Linked DNA regions of Homo sapiens: region 2 is linked to region 1. Evidence: promoter capture Hi-C in 16 types of primary human blood cells and fetal thymus (Javierre and others, 2016). All regions are on one chromosome and are shown on one strand. Each heading gives the region's core, a stretch centred on a gene start or on the middle of the fragment in contact. The rest is flanking DNA. Distances are from core to core; before and after follow the strand shown. Region 1 holds the start of TAL2 (TAL bHLH transcription factor 2). Region 2 overlaps TMEM38B (transmembrane protein 38B).

Evidence for each region. Contacts are between HindIII fragments. The CHiCAGO score rates a contact against its expected background, and 5 or more counts as called.
Region 2: a fragment that was not itself captured here is called in contact with the fragment with the promoter of TAL2 in region 1 in 1 of 17 cell types (naive B cells); the score reaches 5.2 in naive B cells.

The regions. Positions count from the first base shown.
Region 1 is chr9:105,660,090-105,667,248 of GRCh38, forward strand. It overlaps TAL2 (TAL bHLH transcription factor 2), which reads left to right and starts at 2,368. Exons shown (of 1, transcript NM_005421.3): 1 at 2,368-3,035. The coding sequence starts at 2,408. The coding sequence ends at 2,734. RefSeq lists an enhancer at 2,395-2,484. The HindIII fragment of the contact is 4,889 bases long and covers 1-4,298 here.
Region 2 is chr9:105,715,011-105,722,227 of GRCh38, forward strand. It overlaps TMEM38B (transmembrane protein 38B), which reads left to right. Exons shown (of 6, transcript NM_018112.3): 3 at 6,527-6,711. Among named protein-coding and RNA genes, the nearest start is that of TMEM38B, 24 kb to the left of the region's middle. The HindIII fragment of the contact is 1,827 bases long and covers 4,097-5,923 here.

The DNA.
Region 1 (7,159 bases), core at 1,118-3,617:
AATAAAACACCACAAGTCTCCTTTTTTTCTCTTCTCCCAATCTACTGTCCTCTCCCAATGAACCACTGTTGACAGTTTGGCCTGAATCCTTCCAGGTTTTTGCTCTACACACACACACACACACACACACACACACACACACACACACACACCCATATATTCCTGTAAAGTGAATCAAAAGAGCACATAAACAAAGCTAAGACCTTCTCTAATGCATATAACTTCTTCATTAGGAAGAAAATGATAAATTACAACATTTATTTTTCACTGTTTTATTTTTAAAGATAATAATTGCAATCATTAATTTTCTTTTTTTTTTTGAGACAGTCTCGCTCTGTCGCCCAGGCTGGAGTGCAATGACGCGATCTCGACTCACTGCAACCTCCACCTCCTGGGTTCAAGTGATTCTTCTGTCTCAACCTCCTGATTGGCTCTGACTACAGGCGTGCGCCACCACGCCCTGCTAATTTTTGCATTTTTAGTAGAGATGGAATTTCACCGTGTTGGCCAGGCTGGTCGTGAACTCCTGACCTCAGGTGATCTGCCACCCCCCCCCCCCCCGACTTGGCCTCCCAAAGCGCTGGGATTACGGGTGTGAGCCACTGAGTCCCGCCAATCATTAAATATTTATTGAGCCTTTAATATGCACTAGACACTGAGCTAAGGTGCTTTATGTGTATCATTTCATGTGTCCTCACAATGATGCAGTACTCCTGTACTGATCTTTACTTATGAGGCATTTGAAACACAGAGAGGTTAAGTAGATTGCTCGTCACACAGCTAGGGTGAGTATAACCAACAGCCAAACCGGGGTTCTGGCCTTGGAGCCTGTGCTCTTGACCACCATGCATATGGTTCCACTGATGGCTGAGTTACGTGAAGACTCCTGTAGAGTCAGGGCTTGGAAAGGGAAGATCTCACCTGCTGTTTAAAGAAATAGGTAAGTAGAGAGTGGGGAGGAAATTCAAGGAACAGAAAATGACAATGTGCGAAAGTGTAGAGTTGGGAATATTCATGAGTCTTCGGAGGAACTAGAAAGGGCCCAGTGCCCAGAGGAGCTGAGCGTGGAGCAGGCAGCAGACCAATAGCAGTAAGCCAAGAACATCAAACTGCCTGGGGCTAGACTTGGGCTTGTTTGCCAGTGCCTCCCAAGTGTTCCTATTAGCACATGTTAATCCAAGCCACTTGAAAAAAGGGACTCTTGCCTCTAAGAGTGAAAAATGCCTGCATAATGCTCGGCAGTATGTGATGATAAACCACTCTCCTAGACTTGGAAAGGTCATCCAATGCAGCCCCAAAGAGGCCCAAGTATCTTCTACAGAATCCACGCCAAATCACCACTCCCACCTGCCCCTTGTCTTTTCATTTTTGCGAGACTAAATACCCCCACTTCTGTTCTTCATACACCAGGGTTTCAAGACCCTTCATCATTCTGTTCCTGCTCCTCTAAATATAGTCCAGTCTGGATATTTTAGTTCTTACAGAGAGGGGCTGAATCCTCCAGGTGAGGTCTGCCAGCTAACAAGAGAGCTGTATTGTCTTCTCTATTCCAAATTTTATTTTATTAACGAAACCTACAATCATTTTCTTTTTTTACTTCATTCTGATAATACATTGTTGATTCATATTCAACTCTCTGTTGGTGGCCGGGCATCGTGACTCACGCTTGCAATCCCAGCACTTTGGGAGGCCGAGGCGGGTGGATCACCTGAGATCAGGAGTTTAAGACCAGGCTGGCCAACATGGTGAAACCCCATCTCTACTAAAAATATAAAAACTAGCCAGGCGTGGTGGCAGGCGCCTATAGTCCCAGCTACTCCGGAGACTGAGGCAGGAGAATCGCTCAAACCCGGGAGCTGGAGGTTGCAGTGAGCTGAGATGGTGCCATGGCACTCCAGTCTGGGTGACAGAGTGAGACTCCATCTCAAAAAAAGAAAAAAACAAAAAACAAAAAACAAACTTTCTATTGGCCAAACATATGTTGCATTTATACATAAACTCAATCAATATTGTACCTGATTCTGAACAATTAGGAAGAGTTGGTTATAAAGGAAGAAACAGGAGTATTGGGACAAAGCAATCTTTCAACTGGAGGCTTCAAAACAGCCAGAGAGAAAAAGCTGAAGGGTGTTGTTCTTACCTTCCCCTGTTGTTTTTAAGTTAAAAAAAGAAATTATGCATAATTCATAGCGTCACTGATGCCTCGAAAGGTGAGAGGCATATGTTTGTGTCCCTGTGGGGTTGTTTTCTTTTTTAAAAACCTGAAAATGAGGAAATGAATCTCGTAAGCTCTGAGTCGAGAAAATCTAACATCTCAGGTTCTTGGCAGGACATGTGATACCAATCAGGCCTCTTATAAGATATTGGCCCTGAGGGCCCTTTCTCTTTCCATCTCAGGAACTCAAACATGACCAGGAAGATCTTCACAAATACCAGGGAGCGGTGGAGGCAGCAGAATGTCAACAGCGCCTTTGCCAAGCTGAGGAAGCTCATCCCCACTCACCCTCCAGACAAAAAGCTGAGCAAAAATGAAACGCTTCGCCTGGCAATGAGGTATATCAACTTCTTGGTCAAGGTCTTGGGGGAGCAAAGCCTGCAACAAACGGGAGTGGCTGCTCAGGGGAACATTCTGGGGCTCTTCCCTCAAGGACCCCACCTGCCAGGCCTGGAGGACAGAACTCTGCTTGAGAACTACCAGGTTCCTTCACCTGGTCCAAGCCACCACATTCCTTAGTGTGGCTCTGGCTGTCATCTCCCAGGGCAGCACTTGCCCAGAAATCACTGCCTGTGGACAGACTTTTGCATGTTCCAGAGTTGACCTGATGATAACTCGTGAAGCATGAATTCTAGCTTCCTGGGAGGTGGCTCAGAGACAGCTGCAGGGAGCTGAAAGAAGCCATGAGGAATGTCACTTGTGGGCCGCCACCCCCCAGGGATGTCAGGTAGAGCGGCCTACCTCTGCCTATTTTAAATCCAGGTTCTGCATAAGACTTTTGGAGAAAAAATTCTAAATAAAAAAAAAAAAAGGCTGAAAATCACTGTTTATACTCAATGTCTTCAGTTATAAGAAAGAAGTTTTCTCATAATGGATCTCAGATGAATAAGTAGAATATGCTTCCTTCAGAACATATTTTAAAGTTTGTTTTGAAAAATGAGATTTGATCAAGGGTGAACAAAATAAATCTTAAGATTGATGGGCCGGGCACGGTGGCTCACGCCTGTAATCCCAGCACTTTGGGAGGCTGAGATGGGCAGATCACCTGAGGTCAGGAGTTTGAGACCAGCCTGGCCAACATGGTGAAACTCCGTCTCTACTACAAATACAAAAATGAGCCAGGTGTGGTAGTGCGCACCTGTAATCCCAGATACTCAGGAGGCTGAGGCACGAGAATCGCTTGAACCCGGGAGGGGGAGGTTGCAGTGACCCAAGATCATGCCACTGCACTCCAGCCTGGGCAACGGAGCAAGACTCGCTCTCAAAAACAACAATAACAAAAAAAGTTTTCTCATAATGGATCTCAGATGAATGAGTAGCAGCATATGCTTCCCTCAGAACAGATTTTAAAGATGGTTTTGAAAAATGAGATGCATTTGATCAAAGGTGAACAAAATAAATCTTAAGATTGATGAATAGAAAGATAACCCCTGCAGAAACCAACCTGGGAGACTTGCGGGAAAAATCTGTGGAGAAAAGACACCCCCCGCCCCCCGCCCACTAAGGTGTGGGGATTACAGGAATGCAGCAGAGATATGTGGAACAGTTCTGTGTCCTTTCAACTCTGTAGAAGTGTGAGGTGCTACTTGTGCTGAGCCATTTGTACATATGTGACTTCTAAAGGCAAATAGTGGATTATATCTGTGAGACGAAACAACTGGATAATTTATGTGTTAGGGCTCGTAGTTTTCTTACGAAAAACAGTTAGCTGAAATAAGTTAGCTAAAGCCTTCACTTCACATGTCATGCATTAAAACGTTTCACTCAGCCTGAACTCCTGCTGATTCAAGACCTGTAAAATTCAATTATAATTATGAAAATCCAAACATTACCATTTAATGACTCATTTAACAGAGAGCTTAGTTTAAACAAAACATTTAGAGTAAACAATAGAAATGTAATACCAGACGCTAATGAACTAATGAATTTGTAATTTGTCTTCTTTGCTATGGCACATTAGCCTTCTCAAAAAGAAAAAAGTTTCTCATAATAGATCTCAGATGAATGAGTAGCATATGCTTCCCTCAGAACAGATTTTAAAGTTGGTTTTGAAAAATGAGATGTATTTGATCAAGGGTGATCAAGCTTAGTCTTAGGCTTGGAGGCCTGGTACCCAACAAGTCAGTGAAATAGCACGGATCTGGCAGAATCCATCACCATATGCCACCCTGATGATACTTGGAGTCAAAGATAAATCCTATAGTTGAACCTGGAATACAAATAATGTTATTTGATTATCTCTGGGACATTTTCCTTCCCCAAAGTTCTTGACAGTACATTGGTTTTAAAACCTTCTAAACCATACGTAGGAAACTGATGGATTTGAGATTAGGGATTTCCAGTATATACACAACAGAGGAATTTAAATTTCCTGCCACTCAGAAATAAGGTGTTTTACTTGTGAAAGGTTGAAATGAGCCTCCTTGGTCTGGTGATTGGAAGAAAGCTGGATGAAACTCTTACAATCTCATTCTCCCGAAATAGAAAGGTCATTATGTCATTAAATTCTATACAGCATTCACACTTGTAACACAATGCATTTATTTGAACCAGTAAGATTTCCTTCTAGGCCCTTTATTTAAACTGTATTTGGTAAACTTCCCCACGGACCCAGCATAGTCCAGGGAAACACATAAGAAAAGAGATCAAAATGGTTTTCCTGAATGTGCATTTTTTTTTTTCTCACTAGCTTATGTGGACACAAGCTTACCCCCAAATTACCAGGTGATAGTACATTTCAAAGTTTTGATGACAGTTGTCAATTAACATCACTTACTCTCTCATCTGAAATTAAATCAAAATAACACTTTTGACGGTATTTTTATATTAGCTTTGTTTCAACATGTTGCCAAGGAAAGCACAGAGTATCTCTTTGCCTAGATATAGGATTTTGCCCCTCTACCCAGGATGAGTCCACTTTTCTGCTGCTGGGGCCATGATCTGTGTCAAAGGGGGCCATGATCTTCGACAAAGAGGGCCTTTCCGCTGAAATGTAACAGAGTGCTCCTGAAAAGTCATGAGGAGATCAAGTTCTCATTAAACTATGTGAGGGGGAAATTATTTAAAGAAATTTGCAAATAATCCTATAATTAATAAATGAAACTTTAAATCATTAATTTATGTATTTCACCTCCTAAATGATTTCTTTTGCCTGCTTGCATTTTTGTACACCAAGTCATGTTTGGTTAAAGTGACTGTTACGTCAGGTGTGTTGGCATGTGCCTGTACTCCCAGCTACTCGGGAGGCTGAGGCGGGAGGACTGCTTGATATTAGGAGTTTGAGGCCAGCCTGAGCAACATAGTGATACCTGTCTCAAAGAAAAGAAAGAAGGAAAGAGAAAAAAAAGAAGGTGTCTGCCAAAAAGAAAATATAGTCAATTGTGGACCAAAACCTTGACAAGGTATCCATGAGACTGGAAGCTAACTCAAAAATCATTCTAGAGTCTTCTCTGGTGTCCTATACTTAAGGCTTGGTGATGGCAGTAGCAAGAATTTATGATTCAAAAACATTACGGTTCACTGGATGGTACATCTGTTTATAGATCATTTGAGCCCAACAGAATAGTTTGAACAGATTATATAACCTATGCTACTCTGTAACTTAAACAAAAGTGTTTGGCGGTGGGCACCGTGGTTCACACCTGTAATCCCAGCACTTTGGGAGGCTGAGGCGGGAGGATCACCTGAGGCCAGGAGTTCGAGACCAGCCCAGCCAGCATGTTGAAACCCCATCTCTAAAACAATTAGCTGGGTGTGGTGGCGGGCGCCTGTAATCCCAGCTACTCAGGAGGCTGAGGAGAAAGAATCGCTTAAACCTGAGAGGTGGTGTTTGCAGTGAGCTGAGATCGCACCACTGCACTCCAGGAGACAGCAAGACTCTGTCTCAAAAAAAAAAAAAAAAAGTGTTTAGTCTGCTATGGACACCACTAGAAACTTCTAGAAACCAGGTATAAACAGGTCCATTGATTCATATAGATCATTTGATGGTCTAATGCCGGTCCCTCATTTTACAGAGGAGAAAATGGTTCTAGAGGGATTTGAAGTGACTGTCCAGAGGCCACATGCGCAGTTAGTGGAAACCCAGGACCCAGATCTAGGTCTGCAGACACTGTGTTTAGCCTTTCTACGGCCCTGTTCAGCCACCAAGTATTTTAGGATTGAAAATGAAAAAGCACCTTATCATTATGCTTGTCTCTTTTCAATAGCATTCAGTAATCTTCTTCATATGTCTTTTTACTGAAATTAAATTATTGTACTTTGTAAAATGTGATTAGATATATCAACCAAAGATTTTATTTGTTGATGTTTTGTGAGTTTTTAACCATTGACTATAATTTGTTATTTAACTGTTAATTTATTGCAAATAAATTATTTAAGAAAACAAATTGTTCATTTAAAGAAAAATTTCATAAATTTACTAAGCACATTCACCCCTTCTCTCATCTTCACAGCCACTATCCTGGCTTTGACATGTCCCCCCACCCCCCACCAGCTCCCCCGTGGTCTTTAGTATAGAAAAAAACCCAGCGTCACCTGAAATCAGTCTTCTTCCTCTTCATGTCACTTTTCTCACAGCTCCCTAATGGTCCTTCTCAAATCACGGCTGTAGTCATATCACTTCTCTGCTACAAAACCTTCAGTATCTTGTCTACCAGATTGAGACAAATGCCATACCCTAGCAAACCAGGCCCTCTGCATCCTGGCCCCAGTGTGTCCTTCCCTTCACCCTCCACAATGCCTATACGTATGGTACATGCCAATGAAACTACTTTAGTTAAAGATCCCCAAACATGCCCACTCTTTTTTACTCCTGACTTTACTCCTGTGATGCCAAAGGCTTGGATTAATGCTCCCATTCTCACTTGTTCTACTCGCCCCTCCACCTGTGCCAAATTCCACATGGCTGATCTTTTTTCTTCTGGTTGGAGTGCAGTGGCACCATCA
Region 2 (7,217 bases), core at 3,760-6,259, 58 kb after region 1:
ACATATATATCTCCTTTCTTCCACCCTAAGAATTTGGTTTCTTAAGGACATAGGATGTGATTAAATTAATATATTCTAACATTACTGATTTTTTTCTGTATTATGCACACAGTAGTCTTAGAGTAATGTTAAAGACTACCAAAGAAATGATTACAGAAAATTATTATTGCATATGTTCTATTAATTCTCCCATTTTAACAATAAATGTACTATTTTACACTGTCATTTTAAATATATTACTCCATTTTCTTCTGGCTTAAAGCACTGCTGTGAAAGTCTGGTGATCTTTTAATTTTCTTTCTCTTTTAAGATCTTTTTTTTCTAGATCCCTAAAGATTTATTTTTTCATTAAGGTCCAGTCATTTAAATAAAATATCTTGGTGTTCGTTGTTGTGCGACAGTATTCTCTTCTACATGGTGTGTTCTTTTTGGTACCTACACTTTTTTTTAATTGAGAAAGTAATACTAGTATTTGTATTCTTCCTTTGCATTGGTTAAGAACTCTTATTATTGGTATATTGGCTCTTCTTTGCCTTTCTTCAAGGATTTTTTAAAAATCTATATTTCTAAAAAAATTAACCTGCTTTTCACTTGTTTTTCTCTTTTCTCTTTTCTCCTGCTGTTTCTTTGAAGACACTATCTGTTATGTTTCTCTTTGTGTTTTCTGGTTTGTTTTTTATTTTGGAAATGATTTTTTTTCTTTTATCTCTTACTCTCTCCTGAGTGTTGAATCTTTGGTTCTCAGTTTTGCTTATTCTTATGTGTGTTCTTTTATGTCTTACATGACTTTCTTAATGTCTTTAGCTTGTTTTGAAATCATAGTTTACAGTTTTGATCTGTTTTGTTTGCACATTTTCCTGAGTGCTTACATTGTCTATAGGGATTTATTCTGCTTATTTTTTTTCTTGTAATAACTTTGTATAGGATTTGATCTTGATACTTTTGGTCATTTTTATATGAAATTGGCTTTCATAAACTTGCAGAATGTGGTGGAAATATTTTCTTGACTTCACAGAGCTCCTGCTTTTGTTTTTATGTAGTGTTCAAAAGATGAGGACCTGCTTTTTGATATTTCTTGGATCTCTTACCTTCCTTGGCTTGGTGTGGACCTTTTCTTTCTTCTGTTCTATTCTGCTCAGGTTTGATTCTTCCCAGTTTCTTCTCAGTGTGGGGAGCTCAGGCTTGATTCTTCTCAGTTTCTTCTCAGTGTGGGGCTTATTATAGAAGAGAGCCCTGGTGGGTCAGTTTCAAAAGCTTAAAGCTCAGAGGGACTAAATTGTTCCAACCCTTTCAGAACTTCTTATCATGGGCTCTTTGTCTTATCTGGTATTAGAGATGCCAGAACCTCTGTCAGTTGTAGCATTTGTGTGTGTGTGTGTGTATATTTCCAAATGAGTCTGCTCTGCTTTCCAGTGAATACCCGTTAGCTATTTTGGTATGATTTTGGTCTTAAGTTCATCAGTTGCCACCTTGTTGCTTTCTTCTTTCTGCCAAGTAGTACAGTGTTGTGGGTGTTAGTGATTTTTCTCTACCCACTTGCATTTTGGGGTTTGAGGGGATACCTTGTCACATAGTTTTGTTGTAAGTACAGTTGACCCTTGAACAACATGAATTTGAACTGTGTGAATCCACTTATGTGCAGATTTTCTTCTGCCTCTGCCACCCCTGAGATAGCAAGACCAATCCCTCCTCCTCGTCAGCCTACTCTTTGTGAAGATGAAGAAGAATGGAGACTTTCATGATGATCCACTTCCACTTAATGAATAATAAATACATTATCTCTTCCTTAACATTTTCTTAAACATTTTCTGTGGCTTAATTATAAGAATACATCAGGGACAGGTAGGTGACAGTGAAAAAATTATGTAATACATATGACATAAAAAAATCTGTTAATCACCTGTTCATAGTATTGGTGAGGCTTGTGGTCAACAGTAAGGTATTAATAGTCAGATTTTGGAGAGTCAGAAGTTATATGTGGTGTTTTGATTGCATAGGGGTTGGCATCCCTAACCCCCATGTTGTTGAAGAGTCAACTATTGTGCGTGGGATTTTGGTTTTCCTGTCTTGTTTCTCTGTATGTTTTTATGGGAATTTGAAGAGTATCAGAATGTATGCAGCCACTACCATCTTCTCAGAACCCTTACCATTAGTTTTTATGTCACTTCTATGGTCTCCTCCCATTCCATCTCTTTTCTTCCGCCTTCAGAAGTAACCATTATCTTCAACTTCATGATGCCCAGAGAAATAACTAGAAGCAATAAAAATGCTCATCCACAGAAGAAAAAATATGGATATTAATATAATGGCATTATCTAATAGAGTTTAAGAATCACTTTCCTAAAATAAATCTTTAAGCATATAACAAGAGAAAATGTTGCTTATGTACAGATATGTGCAAGAATGTTTTTAAAACACTATTTATAATAGGGAAAACTGGGAACAACTCTCTGTCAGCAGAGAAATGATGGATAAATTATGGCATATTAATTCTGTTACGGTAAATACTGGTGAAAATTAGTAATTATAACCACACACAATAAGAATAAATCTCAGGAATAGAGCTTAAACAGAAAAATACATATGATTCTATTTATAAAACCTTTAACAACTATATTGTTTATGGATATAAACATATGCTAAAACTACATAAAAAAGCTAAGATTTGTATTCAACATTATGTTACTAAGATTCATCTGTTTGTTTGTATGTAGCTGTAGAACATAACTTCCCCCTGCTGTATAGTCCATTATATTAATATCTATATTTTATTCTTTTGTTGATGGCAGTTTTCTTGGTTCTAGGTGTTTAGTTAGGCATTACAAAACAACAATAATAGCAATTACATAGCATTTACTGTGTCCCAGTTTTCTAAGTGTTTTGCTTATGTTATCTCACTTAAACCTGACAAGAACCCTGAGACGTAGGTATTATTTTATTCAATTACGTGTTAAAAAGCATGTAATTGAGGCATGGAGAGGTTAATAACTTGCCTAAGGTGTCACAGTTACTGAGTAGTTGAAGCTGGGATTCCAACCTGGCGCAGCTAGTCCTTTAATCTGTACTTACACAGTATATTGGTTTGTACTCTGGAAACAGGAATGTTACCTTTGTCTTCAGAGATCCTTAAATATAAAAAAATTATGGCTTAAAGACATAGTGTATTTTACTATTTTCTTTTTCAAAGTTTTCATATTTAGAACAAATTTGTAATCTTTGCTTCATTTGAGGTTTTTTTTTTTTTTTAGATGGGGTCTTGCTCTTGTTGCCTAGGCTGGAGTGCAATGGCACGATCTCAGCTCACTGCAACCTCCGCCTCCTGGGTTCAAGTGATTCTCCTGCCTCAGCCTCCCAAGTAGCTGGGATTATAGGCGCCCGCCACCATGCTGGCTAATTTTTGTGTTTTTTAGTAGAGATGGGGTTTCTCCATGTTTTGTCAGGCTAATCTTGAAGTCTTCACCTCGTGATCCTCCCGCCTTGGCCTCCCAAAGTGCTGGGATTACAGGCATGAGCCACCGTGCCCTGCCCATTTGATTTTAATTTGAGAGATAAAATGATGTTAGAAATGTTTTTAAACAAGCAAGCAAGGTAATCTTTAGTACAGTAGCTCATAGTGTATACATCTGGAAATTAGCACCATCTACTGGCAAAGAGAAACAATAACTTGGTATGTCATAGTATTGTGTACACTTTCATAGGTTTTATTTGTTTTGAAAAGCTGTTCCCGGGGGAAATAAATATTTTATAATTTTTTAGTATGTTTATTTTTGTTTCCTATATATTTTTCTTAAAATTCCAAGTATCAATTACTTATATATGGCACATTTGTGTAACCGAGACTACATTTAGATGAGGAAAAATACAACAAAAGGTATCATTTTATAGTTGTCATTCTGTCTGTATTTTTCAAAGCATGTACAAAAAATTTTCAATTTGTTGGAGTGATAAGAGCAAGAACAAAGCTGTCATACTGGACTAACATGAACTGTATTTAGTTTATCATTGTGTTTTGTCTTAGTTAAGTGATACTGTCTTCGATAGAGGAGTGGAATTGATAGTAGAGTGAAAACAGAGTTCTCAATGACTAAGCCTGGGAAGCTTCTCTCTGCCTAACTTTTTGTATATACCTAAATTCTACTCTCACTTTTTCTTAAACTGGTTGAGATTTCATTTGTTTGTGGCCTAGGGTCTTGTTTGTATCCCGTTTGAGACGTTTATTCTTTCGTTATTTTTTCTCTCCATTAACTTAACCTATAGTTAAATGTATGAGAAGTCAGTTGTTTTCTCATTCCACTTCCTCTCTCATTTTGTGATATGTTTTCTTTAGGCACTTTACAAGTTAAAGTTACCTTGGATATGATAATTTTAGTTAAAGGTGAAATTATGTTTACAGAAGGGTTACAAGGTTATTACCTAATAAGTGTTGGTTGAGGGATTTATTAAAAGAATTTTAAAGGCTAATTTGTTATAGAGCAGGAATGGTTGTTGAGTGTGCCATTGGTCTGATATGTTTACTTGTAAGTCTACTGAGCACAATAAACAATTGTTCTTTTGCCCTGTGGCTACTTAACTCTCAAATGAAAACAGTTTTTTTGTTTAAAATGTTAACTTATTGTAGGTGTGCTTTAGAAAGATCTGATTAAATAGAAGAGTTGCAATAATTGCAAATTTTTTAATGTCTTATACTATAATGTCACATAGTTGAATACCGAAGTCCAAGATTGCTATTGTAATAGTATAGGTTTTTAACTCACGTTAAAGTTAGGCTTAGTGTAAGGAATGAAAATGGGTCATTTATAACATTCTTTTGGTTGTTTTTCTGAATATTTTACTTTTGGGTGCTCATTACTGCTAAGGTGAAAACAAATCCCCCTTTCTTAATGTAATCTATAATAGATATAAAAATACATTTAAAAATTAAGTGTGTATACTTTTCCCCCATTACCTAACCAACTTCTTAGAAATTAGTTCTATATTCAAAGAGAGAACTATACAGACTTTCAAATTTTCTATGAATGTGTAAAAATTTTAAATCATACTAGTTGTTTTTAAAAATCTTATAGAACATGTACAATTTTAAAGCCATACAAATGGTCTTCAGAAATCTTTTTACTACTCTCAGATAGTTTATTCTTTTTTCTCAAACTCTTTAATTATCAACTAATGCTTTGATTTGCTGTATTTTGGATTTTGAATCCAGATTGACTGCTAATAAATGATTTAATTCAGGGCTACTTTTCATCATGCTGAGTTTTAGGTTAGAGGGTAACAAGATGAATGATTTCTGTCATCTAAGAACTATTGTAGTTCATTATGAGCATTATAGCCTTTATTTTATATTATAAAGAATAATGTATAAAGAGCTATTTTTAGGCATAGGAACCAATTGGTTTAGTTTTACAGAGCCATCAGAATGTAGTCTGAGCTGAGATGTTAAAATAAAATAAGAATCCCAAAGTCAATGACTATGGTAATATTTGAGTGGCACCTTGAAGAGTAGGAAGGAATTGGTAAGTGGAGATGAAGAAGAAAGGGTGCTTTAGGCTAAACAGACTATTGTATCTTTTTATTTAGTCGCTGAAGCAGTATTTTGGCAAACATTTCATATTTCATGAACATTGAAGAATTCTGACTTTATAAATCGTGAATTGCAATAAGATTAATAGCTTCTTTTAAAAGAGATATGATATTCTTTCATGCCATGTCTTTTATTTACCCCGTTAGAAAGAAGATATGTTCTACTTTAAGCACAAAATTGTCAGCCAGAGTATTTGGAGAATGGAGAGAAAAAAGCAGTATGTTTTCCAATAGATCTTACTGCTAGTATTCGAATAGATGCTTAGAACAAATGAAGTTTAAAAAAATAATTTACCATAGATGGGATGAATTATTTTTAATCACAGTTTAATTTGGTTAAAACTTAAGCTTAGTGAACTAAATTAAAGAACAGCTTCATATTCTTTCAGCTGTATAGAAATGTGTTTTTCCTTAATACAAATCTGCCTCCTTGTGAGCCGTCATGTACCTTTGTATAGATTGTAGTTTATGTCCTGCACAGTGGGGCACAGGTGAATATGTTATTTGAGATTGAAATGTAGCCCTTGCTTTTACCAAAGGACCCTTTCTCTAATTCATTTTCCCAGAGGACAAAGACACTGTGTAGGAGTTCCTACCCCTGGAAATGATTATACATTTGTTTTGTTACTGGATTCAGCACTTAGCTTCTAGAACAATATAGGCACAAATTAAGAGCTCACTAAATATTTCATATATCTATAAAGTATTCAGAAGTCCACAGTTTACATTCTTCTCTGATCATGACTTTTTGGCAGATGACATATGTTTCATGTGATTTAAAAAATTGCCTCCCTACCCAAGTTGTGCTTTTATTGAAATCAAGTTAAATGTTTATATGGAAAATTCCATTTGTTGTGTTTTGCCAAATTGTTGTTGCTGTTAGGTTAGATTTTAATTTCTGTTCTTCTGATTCCATTAATATATTAAAATGTTTACATTTCATTTTCAGGTATATTACATTTTTTTGCCCGCATGACCTAGTTTCCCAGGGCTATTCATATCTACCTGTTCAACTACTGGCTTCGGGAATGAAGGAAGTGACCAGAACTTGGAAAATAGTAGGTGGAGTCACACATGCTAATAGCTATTACAAAAATGGCTGGATAGTCATGATAGCTATTGGATGGGCCCGAGGTAATATTGACAATATGTGTTCATAAATATTCTGTTGTTGGTGTATTATTAATACCATTACTGAACAATTCTCTAGTTACATTAATGGATCACATACTTTAATAACAGAGACTTTTTGGAAGGTAAAAACCTTGTTTCTGTTGGCTGGTAAAGTTAATTCAAAACTAGTACTAGTCCTAAGCCATTATTTTGAGCCTGAGTGTCTTATGATAGAAAATTTTTATGATTGGTTTGATTAAGATCCCCAGAACCAGAAAGATTTATAGTTAATTAAGGTATAGTGCCTCTGTAAATAAAATAAGTTTACATAAGAAATTATGTGGTACATATGAATAAAAAATATTGCTCTGTCTTTTCTGTGTTTTTTTCATTCAGAATTACTAGAAATAATAAATATGATTGACTATGGGTTCATGATCATTGAACTTTACATCACTTGCCTTTTTGTTTTGCATGTAGGAATTGAACAAATCTCTGTAACCTCTTTTTACAGTATACTGCACCTG